Linked DNA regions of Homo sapiens: all the other regions are linked to region 3. The links are contacts of gene promoters, found by promoter capture Hi-C in blood cells and fetal thymus (Javierre and others, 2016). All regions are on one chromosome and are shown on one strand. The core of a region is centred on a gene start or on the middle of the fragment in contact, and the rest is flanking DNA. Distances in the headings are between cores, read along the strand shown. Region 1 has its middle 47 kb from the start of NT5M. Region 2 has its middle 75 kb from the start of MED9. Region 3 holds the start of SREBF1 (sterol regulatory element binding transcription factor 1).

Region 1 (3,280 bases), core at 616-3,115, 490 kb before region 3:
GGGGCCCTGAAAGTCCCTCCTCATGAAGGGCCAGGAGAATGTGTGATGTGCAACTCCTTTCTTGTCCCCAGCAGGGCCTGTCCACCTGCTCCACGCCCTGTCCTGAGAGGGACTGCCCCATCAGAAGACTCGAGTCACAGGGACTCTCCTGGGGCCAGCCACACCCTGAAAACATTGTGACTATAGCTTGGGGTGCAGAAAACAACTTGGCTTGTTTCCATCCTGGGGGTCCTTCTGATGACAGAAACTCAATCCTGTCCAGATTTTCTCAGCCACATCCTGGTTTCTCCCTCCCTCCTCCTGCCCAGGGAGAGCCCCGGGCCTGGGGGCTGACTTGGTGCAGGGGTGTGGGTCGGGTTGCTGAGAGCAGTGTTCACGGACCCCGAGGGAGCTGTGGAGGGGCCCTGAGGCCTTCTGTCCACAAAGAGGGGAGCAGGGCCTGGTGGGGTACCACTGGGGGACATTCCCTCCTGCCTCTTACACCAGCCAGGGAATCTTTGTTGAGTCTAGGGCAGGGCAGGGCTGGGCAGTCTCCGTCAGCTCCTAACCAAGCATCCGCAAGAGTAACATGCTCTGAATCCTTCAGGAGACGGACTGTTGCGAAACCTTTTAGACTGATAATTGCCATCAGTTTTAAAGGTCAGTTTAGGAACTCCATGCTCCAAATTGCCACATTTGTTCTCTGCTGTTATCATCACTCACCCCGAGGTGGGCAGCTGCTTCAGCCACATAATTTATTTAAAGAAAAAAAAATAATTGCAGGGGCAAAAATGTTTCAGAACATGACCCCACCCGACGGTCTCAAAGCAACTTGCTGTGACGTTAACAAGCACTTCGAGGGGTGCCTGGGGCTGCCGAGGCACTGTGGAGCAGCAGGAGGAGGCCCCGGGGGCCTCAGGTCCCAGCACGGTCTCCTATGTGGAAGAAGGGGCCAGCCCCTGGCTGAGACGCCCTGCAGAGACCCAGGGCTGGGGGGAGCTTGCTGAGGTGGAAATGGGAAGCAGGCGTTGATGAGTGAGGTGCCGTCTGCACCTGGATGCTCAGCCGGCTGCTGCCGTCCCCATTGCACTGACCTTGGCTGAGACCCCAAATTCATGATCGTGTCAACAGTCTCCTGATTGAGGCCAGGCGCAGTGGCTCACGCCTGTAATCCCAAAACTTTAGGAGGCTGAGGCAGATGAATCAGTTGAGGCCAGGAGTTCGAGAGCAGCCTGGCCAACATGGTGAAACCCTGTCTCTACTAAAAATACAAAAATTAGCTGGGCGTGGTGGCGGGCGCCTGTAATCCCAGCTACTCGAGAGGCTGAGGCAGGAGAATCGCTTGAACCCGGGAGGCAGAGGTTGCAGTGAGCCAAGATCGCGCCACTGCACTCTAGCTTGGGTGGCAGAGAAAATTCCATCTCAACAACAAAAAAATTCTGATTGAAATGAAGGTCACTTTCTTGAAAGCTTGGGAAGCTTGTGTTTTGCCTCAGAACCAGTTTTTGAACCCCAGAAAAGAAGATCCACCCCCGTTAGGAGAGCTAGGCCTGGTTCTGCCCCATGGCACATCAGCTCTATCCCTCCCTTATCCACCAGGCTGGCCTCTCAGTGACTCAGCTCTCGGTGAAAGTTGTGATTCATTTGAAAATATTGGAAAGATTCAGAGCTCTAGGACCAGAGCCCCTGGAAGGGGTGACATCCCCCAGGTGGAGAGGGCGCTGGGAAAGCAGGTTTGTGGAGCATGTAGGAATCGTGGCCGCACGCTCAGGTATGTGGGGAATGTGCCCCTGTTTCTCTGTCCTGCCAGAGGGTGGAGGAATCTGACTCCCCTACCTGCTCTTCAGCAGCGGGGCCTCCAGCAGGGGGGCCTCTAGCAGAGGGGCCTTGTCATTGTCCCCATGCTGCTCCCCCTTGGCCCTTCATCCCTGTCTGTGCAGGGTGTCCATCTGTCCTCGGTGAGGGGCCACTGCTGCCTGGCCTCGCCCCCACCCTGGGGACCCTGCTGAGGATGGGAACACTGCTCCTGGCCCTCAGACCTCTCTGGGGTTTGTGGTTCCCCGAGCCTGGGGTTCTGACCAGGGGTGGGCTGACCACAGGTCACCTTCTGAGGGACCCCTGGTATCTCCTGCATGGACTCCTCGAGTGCCTGAGCCCAGGGGGAGAGCAGCCTGGGCCTGTCCAGGGCTCACTGGCCCAGGTTCCCCACCCTAGGCCAGCTCTTCTTGACACATGTAGGCTGTGAGTCCTCACCCCGTGGGGTCGTCAGGCCAGATGAGGCCATGCATGTGAGGAAAGCTTCTGATCCTTCTCCAGTCCACGGCAGTGCCATTCCCACCTGTGGGGGGGAGGAGGCAGGCTCGGGAGGTGCAGTTACGTTCCCGAGGCCATGCGGCGTTCGACCTGGGTCAGCCTTGCTCAGTGTTTCTCAGGAGGCCCTCCTTTTGTCCACGTGGCCTTTTCCTCAGACGTTTTTGTGAAGGACGATGTGGCAGAGCCCTTCTGGCTGGGCCCTCTACCCGTCTCCACCCCAGAGGGCCCAGGGACTGCGCAAGCTGCTGATGGGGACCCCCACACTGAGCGGGGTGTCCCATGCCTAGGAAGGACAGATTCCTTGGCCAGCGTTGCTGAGCCTCTGTCCTGTCACTCACCCCCTTCCAGGCTCCGAGGGATGTGAGGACTTCAGACCACACACTTCCCAGGGCACATGTGTCGCTGGGGATCCCTCATCAGTCCATTTGCACCTGTGCTGTGGGGAGCCGGTCTCTGCTGCACTTGGGCAGCCCGCCCCGGCGGAGGGCAACCCCTTAATGAGCCTTAGCAGGTGGCATGTGGGCCAGCGTGTCCCAGCACGAGACGTTCTTGTGCTGGGTCCCTTCAGCTTTAGCCTCAGTGGGCAATTGGCCCAAGTCCCTGGCTGCTTCCCCACTGCAGCCCCTACCCAGCTTGGGTGGGGTCCTCACTGCCCACCCCGCCCCCCGCCACCTTGGCCCCCTTCCAGGTTCCAGACTTCCACTTGCGTGTGTCAGAAACGCAGCTCAAACCCACCCATGTGCACGTGCGCAAAGCTCGTTGGCCTGGGAGGCCCAGGGCACGCTCACCCCCAGGGGGTCACACAGTCTGACCAGGCTTTCGCGTCCTTCCTGCTCTCTCACTGCACTGTCCGCTTCTGCTTCCCAGCCTGTGGACGCTCCCTGGAGGGCAGAGCAGCTGGCACACCATGCCCATGCTCTGAGCGAGCAGCTGAGCTCTGGCCCACAGTGGTTGCAGATGATGTCGTAGAAAGGGCCCAGAAATAGCG
Region 2 (3,450 bases), core at 299-2,798, 440 kb before region 3:
AGGTACAGAAATACCCTCTAGGGTGGGAAGAAAAGCAGCCAGCCTGGGGCCCCAGTCAGGGCCTCAAGATGTGCCCTTATGTTGCTCCGATCCTGCCCTGTCTCAGGGTGTGCCCTGCTCTCAGATGTGCCTGCCGCTGACGACCATTCCCACTCCGACAAGGAGGCTGCAAAGGCTGTAGCACCCAGGGATGAGGATGAAGCATTTTTATTCTTCCCACTGTAAGACGAAGTAGCATGCGTAAGAAGCCACGTTGGCTCATTTCTGCTTGAACCCCTGACTCTGTGACAACGTGCAGCTCTCTGGAAAGATGCTTTGAAGGCAAAGCAGGATGAAGCGCCCGGCCCCGCACGTCTCTTGCCTGAGTCACTTGATTCCTTAAAAGAGAAGAGCTCTAGTCCTTGCCTTTCTGACAGGCTTAATGACGATGCCTCTGCCATCTATAACCAGAGGTGCTCTTACACCCACACCTTGATGGGCTGCTGCTTCAACGTAACTTCTGAGCAAGTCCGATGTGATTTTGCACTTGCTGAACCTCCACCACCTGTATGTAAGCCGTGGGCTTCAACAGAACTGCCCTGAGGCAGTAGATGTGGTCTGGAGTCCTCAGACTCCTGAATGAAATGAACTTTAGTTCTTCGAAAGCTTGATTTTGTTTTCGTTGTCAACACTGGGAAATTGGGCTTAGAGGGGCTTCCAGGGGCCTCTTTGCCCTCCAGCTTTCCTTGCCTCCTCTTGTCTCCTGATTTGCTCTTATGTTTCTCTACCTTCCAGGAACCCGAGTTGCTAAGCTCCTAGCTCCAGCCTGTCCCACCAGCGGGGGCTCCAAGGGGCTCAGGCTTCCCAGAGTCCAGTGCCCACATAGCAGACAAACCCACATCGTGTGCCCGAGTCTCCTGGCCTGGTTTAGGCATGTGATTACACTCATGGGGTCTGTGTCTCTTGCTCGGATTTAACCACATACCCTCCCAACCCGCCAACTAGGTTTCAATGCAAGGGAAGGCCAGATCCCTGTATGTCATGTCTAACCCACACACCCACGTGAGCGCATGTCTGTGCACATGGAGCGTGTGTCTGGGGTCCCGATGGCAGTGTTTACACAGGAACCTCTGTCCAGTGAGCAGGCACACACGCACGTCCTGGGCATCTGGTGCTAGAACTCTCAGGAGTGAGAATGGGGTAAGGGGCAGAGAGTCCTTTACAGTGGGCCACCAGGGCACCCCCACTGGCGGCATGGACCCACCCCCTCAGGGGGCATAGAAAATATCTGGAGCCTAGGTTGAGGGTATGAACGTCCCCAGGGAGAAGGAAGGTCATCAGTGAATGTAGAGTGGGCAGAGTTGCCCCTTCCAGGGGAGTGAGCAAGGGGCACATCCCGTCAGTGCTGGGTCCACCGAGGGCTTGGGGGCTGCCATTAGCCCATGTGGTGCGTTGTGTGAAGGAAGAAAGCGCCCTCTAATGGTGGCTGCAGTCCCAAGGGTTGCAGGGCTTGGCTAGCGGAGCATGGACTGAATGTCAATGAGCACTGCGCCTTTGGCAGGATGCCCTTGGGCAGTGCACAGCCTGTACCGCTGTACAGGGCATCCGTGGGGGAGGCGGGACTTGTGGAGACACATCAGACCAAGGTCAGCTCCAGTGTGAATGGGGGAAGTGAGGGAACCCGAGGGCAGCAAGAGGTGGAGAGGCATCCAAGAAAGGCCCAGAGGATATGTAGGCTGGGTCCCCACCAGCAGTCACGTGAGTGCCTGGCAAGACCATGAGTCAACATCCCAGCACTTGGGGTGGAGTGAGGTCCACACACTCACTCCTCTGGTGCCACCACAGCTCAGGGGGCCTCTTGTCTGCACGCTGAGCCAGGACTGGCCACGATGGAGGGGGCCAAAGAACAAGAGAGCCCTGCTCTCTAGTTAAAGAGAAAATATGCACCCACACGGAACATGTTTAAAAATGTTCTTCACAAGTTAAACCTAGAGTCACCATATGGCCCAGCAATTCCACTCCGAGGTGTCTACACAAAAGAATTGAAAACAGGTGGCCGGGCATGGTGGCTCACGCCTGTAATCCCAGCACTTTGGGAGGCCGAGGCAGGCAGATCACGAGGTCAGGAGATCGAGACCATCCTGGCTAACACGGTGAAACCCCGTCTCTACTAAAAATACAAAAAATTAGCTGGGCGTGGTGGCAGGCGCCTGTAGTCCCAGCTACTCAGGAGGCTGAGGCAGGAGAATGGCGTGAACCCAGGAGGTGGAGCTTGCAGTGAGCCGAGATCGCGCCACTGCACTCCAGCCTGGGCAACAGAGAAAGACTCCATCTCAAAAAAAAAAAGAAAACATGTATTTGAACAAAAACTTATACATAAGTGTTTACAGCAGCAGTATTCATAACAGCCAAAAGGTGAAAGCAGCCCAATTGTGCATCCACAGATGAGTGGTAACAACTGCAGATGTGGATCCAAGCTTGGACACTTCTTACCTTCCAGACCCTGGACAAGTTCTGCAGCCTCTCGGACCCTCAGTCTCTTCATCTAAAAAATGCAAACGACAGTGCCCAGTTCTTGGGTGGTTGGGAAAACTAAGCCTACATACATAAGGTGTCAGATGCCCTGTAGGTCCTCACGGAGGTACGATATACCTGTACGATGGGATATTATTCAGCCACAAAAAGGTACAAGACAAGTGGACCTTGAAAACACTATGCAGAGGGAGGATGGCAGTCACAAGAAATCACATACAATTCCACTTATATGAAATATCCAGAATAGGTAAACCAACAGAGACAGGAAGCAGACTGCTGGGTGCCTGGGGCCGGAGGAAGGGAGGAGTGGGGAGTGACAGCTCATGGGAATGGAGTTCCTGTCAGGGGATGAAAGTGCTCGGGAGCTAGATAGAGGTGATGACTGCACAGCACTGAGAATGTACTAAATGCCGTGAAATTGTTCACTCTAAAACTGTTAGTTTTATAGTGTGTGGATTTTACTTCAATTTAAAGAAATCTCATGCCTGAAATCCCGACACTTTGGGAGGCCGAGGCGGGAGAATCACTTGATCCCAGGGGTTCAAGACGAGCCTAGGTAACACAGCAATATTCCATCTCCAAAAAAAATTTGAAAAATTAGGTGGGTGCGCTGTCATGCACCTGTAGTCCCAGCTACTGGGAGGCTGAGGCTGAGACAAAAGGATCACTTGAGCCTGGGAGGCTGAAGCTGCAGTGGGCTGTGACTGTGCCACTGCACTCTAGCCTGGGTAACAGAGAAAGACTTGCCTCTCTTAAAAAAAGAAAAGAAAAGATCAAGAAAGCAGATGACCAACGGCCACAAAAATTTGCAGAGCTTCTTGCAGACTAGGGAACACAAGGCTGGTGTTTAGAATAGTCACCAGCTGGCCTCATAGAGAACAGTCTGAGCCCACCTCTCCCTGATGGGTTGTGGGGAGGCCTGGGGTCCTGGAAGAA
Region 3 (3,562 bases), core at 400-2,899:
ATAGGGGAGGCTGTTTTGGAAAAGCCTCACAATCAGGGCCTCTCCTCTGGGGTCCTCCCCTAGCCCAGCCCCAGGGGGAAGGAGGGAGGGCTGGGAAGCTTCTGGGGCTGGCAACCAGCTGGGCTCATCTGCAAGGCTGCAGTAGGGCAGGAGTGGTGGTGGCATAGATATATCTGTTTTGCCAACCCCAGGGTGGCCACGGGTTCCATGGACATGTCCATTCAGGCTGTGAGTCTAGGCATCTTGTTCCTGCGACCTTGGCCTCAGTTTCCTCATCAACCAAGTGCAACTTAGCTAGTGCTGCTAAAACTCCTGCACAGAAACCATGCAGGCAATTTGCTAGGGGCTTCCGTTTGCTCTATCTACAAAATGGAAGCAACGGGCCTCCTAATTGGCACTTGGTGCCACCATTGGCCCCAAACCCCTTCTCATCACAGCCAGGGTGATGCTCCAAAGATGGAAGCCGGTGCCACTGTTCTGCTCCGCCCTTTCCCTGGCCGACCAAGTCGGTTTGCGTCCTCCTCCTCCCTGACCTCACTCCTTTGCAAGCCTCTAACTCCTCACACTTAGGCCCTGCCTCGAGGCCTTTGCCCTTCCCTTGCCGTGGCCTGGAAAACATCTTTCCTTGCTGGTCCTGGGGGTGACCCTCAGGTCTCAGCTTAGAAGTCCCTGACCGCTCTACCCAAAGTAGCCACATCCCTGCCCTCCCCCAGCCTCGCTCCACCCAAGGTACAACTAAATACCCGTTTGGTTTCCCGGGAGATTTTTGTGTTCCCTAAAAGAGGGGGTACCCAGGTCTGTCTGTAAACCCTCGGTGCCTAAGACGGGGCCTGGCATTCGGTGGATGTCAGTGAATGAGTGCGGAGGCTGTGCCCGTCGCAGACCGGGAGAACCCGACACGAGGCGGGGGAAGGGCGCGAGGCAGCGCCCATGCGCATGCGCAAGAGCTCCGACGCCGAGCTGAACTCTCGGGCCGGAGGGAATGACCGTGAGTAACCTCGCAATTACGTCACGGCTGGGGCTGGGGCGGAGCTTCGGCGACGCCTGGGTCCCCAGCTTCAGCCGTGGCCATCACAGGGCTGGAGAGTCACCGGTCGGGCGGCACCCGGCCTGGGACGCGTAGAGGCGCACGTGTCCCGGCCCGGAGCCGCCAAGGGACCCCGGCCCGGCCCAGGAGCCCTCACCCACAAGCGCGCGGCCCGAGACGCTAGCGCGGGAACCAGGGAGGCTCGGTGAGGCTCGGGACACCGAGCTCAGAGACACCGGGAAGTCCCGCGCGAGCACAGCACGGAGCTGGCGCCCGTGGGGGAGACAAAGGCCAGGGAGACACCTGCGCGCCCCCTACTCGCGCCACCCGGCGCAGCTTCAAGCCCTGCCCGCCCTGACGCACCTTCGATGTCGGTCAGCAGCGCCGCGTCCAGATCGCACGGCTCGCCCAGCGCCTGCTCCAAAGCCGCCTCGCTGAAGGGTGGCTCGTCCATGGCGCAGCCGCCTCCTCCGGGAGGCCCGCCGGGCCCGCCGCCTCGTACGGCCCTTCCTAGGGAGCGCCGCCGCGGCCCCGGCTCTCAGTCGCCGCCGCCGCTCCGCGCGTTCGTGTCCTGCCCTGGCCTCAGAGGCGGCCCGGCGCCGGCGAAAAGTTCCTCGGAAACTGGGTTCCCCCGGCCGCAGCTCTGCTGGGCGGTCGAGGCGGAGGCGGGGCCTTTCGGGGAGGACCCGCCCTCCCAGATAGACGGCCCCGCCCCACCTTGAGAGAGCGGGGGACCCCTGATCCCCGGTCTGCGCCACAAATCTCCCCTCAGCCGGCCCCTCCTCCAGAGCGCCCTCCAGTCATTCATTTTATCCAGCCTCGCGCACAATGGCAGCGGCCTCTGGCCGGCTGCTGCGGGAACGCGGGCAAGCCGAGCCCCCTCTCTGGGCCTCTGTTTCTCCAGCACCAAGCAAGGAAGCCGAGTGGAAGCCCCAGGCCTGGGCCCATCCCAAACTTCATTTCCTCATTTCCTAGATTTGACTCTTTAGAACAAGACAGACCAGGATCCAAGTTATAGGGGTCCCAGGCCTGCTGTGTTGTGAGCAGGCCTGATGTAACTGCTGGGCCAGTTACATCACTCTGCCTCAATTTTCCTCATTTGTAACATGGGCCTAATGATGCTTTCTCACGGGCAGGCTGGGAGGCTAGTGACAATGTGGAGGGGAGCATGACCTGTGAGATCAGCCTGCCCCCTCTCTGCAAAGAAACCAGAAGATTGGCCTCTTGAGGACAGGAGTGGCCAAAGAAAGAGGCTGGAATTTCGTCATCTGGTTTCCTCCCAGATCCAGCTGTAGGGATAGGATACCAGTGGGCCCAGTGCAGCTCCTGAAGGAGGAAGCCAGTACCCAAGGAAGACTGGCCCCAGGGCTGTCTGACCCCAGATTTGGCACTTATTCCCAGGAGCAGCCAGGATAGGGGCCGCAAGGAAGAGGTAGCTGTGCTTTAGATCAGAGCCAGGCTGCCCTGGATCATCACAAGCTGGGACTAGATCAGAGCAGGCAGCCCTGTTGAGAAGAGGGCTGGAAACCGAACCTGGTTCTGTGGCCTAGGGACAGAGCCAGGTGGGGCAGGAAGGAGGGAAGGGGTCCCAATGAGGTGGGTTGAAATAAACCAGAATTAACATTCAGGAATCTGAATGTGATAAGGCAGTGAGCTCCCTGTCCCCAGAGGTATGCAAGCAGAGAGAAGCACCCTTGGTGGAGGGCAGTCCAGGAAACTCATCAGGGGCCTGGGCCTCAGGCCTTCCCGACCCCAGACCTTCATAAGTCAAGCCATCCTGCAGACTGCCTTGCTCAAACTCCAGATATAGCCTATCTGGCCACGCCCTAAGCAGGAGTAACATTCATGATGCATTTTAGAAGGGGTGTGTGGGGGAGAGAAGCCACAGAGCCCAAGTCCCTGGGGCTCAGCCTGGACATCCAGCTCCCTTTGTTCCTCTCCCAGAAGTGGCTGCGGTGGAAAATTACCCAGAATAGCGGCGCCAGAAGTCATAGGGGTCGCCAAACCACATCTCCCCAAGTAGCCCTGCTCAAGGGTCCACCCAGGACCCACTCCCTCCAGATGAACAACTGCTGGAGAACACAGAGAACAAAGCTGGCTTCTCCTCAGTGCCCCACCCCCACCAACACTCTAGAGGCTGCAGGAAGCTGGTGACTTCCCTGAAAATTTAAACAGCCCTTCCCAGGGAGGGGGTGGGATAGGAAGTGCTGGGTGAAGCCTAAATACCATTTTCTTCAGAGCTAGGCAGGTGATCTGGGTTTTCACCTGCTTGCTGTGTGACCTGGATCCAATACCTCACTTCTGAGTCTCAGCTACTGTATCTATAAAATGGGAATAACCCTTTCTGCAGTCCCTCTGCAGAGGCAGGGAGGGTGTTTTGGAGTCATCATCACAACAGATCTGCCTCACTGTTTTTTGTTTTGTTTTGTTTTGTTTTTTGTTTTGAGACAAAGTCTCTCTCTGTCACCCAGGCTGGAGTGCAGCGGCATGATCTCGGCTCACTGCGACCTCCACCTCCCAGGTTCAAGCAATTCT

Evidence for each region. The method cuts DNA at HindIII sites, captures the fragments that hold promoters and counts their contacts. A CHiCAGO score of 5 or more calls a contact.
Region 1: a fragment that was not itself captured here is called in contact with the fragment with the promoter of SREBF1 in region 3 in 1 of 17 cell types (fetal thymus); the score reaches 6.7 in fetal thymus.
Region 2: a fragment that was not itself captured here is called in contact with the fragment with the promoter of SREBF1 in region 3 in 1 of 17 cell types (fetal thymus); the score reaches 5.3 in fetal thymus.

The regions. Positions count from the first base shown.
Region 1 is chr17:17,348,970-17,352,249 of GRCh38, forward strand. No RefSeq gene overlaps it. Among named protein-coding and RNA genes, the nearest start is that of NT5M, 47 kb to the left of the region's middle. RefSeq lists an enhancer at 2,462-3,041. The HindIII fragment of the contact is 819 bases long and covers 1,457-2,275 here.
Region 2 is chr17:17,399,916-17,403,365 of GRCh38, forward strand. No RefSeq gene overlaps it. Among named protein-coding and RNA genes, the nearest start is that of MED9, 75 kb to the right of the region's middle. RefSeq lists an enhancer at 3,439-3,450. The HindIII fragment of the contact is 1,811 bases long and covers 644-2,454 here.
Region 3 is chr17:17,835,337-17,838,898 of GRCh38, forward strand. SREBF1 (sterol regulatory element binding transcription factor 1) reads right to left here and starts at 1,650. Exons shown (of 19, transcript NM_004176.5): 1 at 1,391-1,650. The coding sequence starts at 1,481. RefSeq lists enhancers at 525-1,426, 1,427-2,329, 2,330-3,231 and silencers at 1,029-1,308, 1,499-1,658. The HindIII fragment of the contact is 13,614 bases long and covers 97-3,562 here.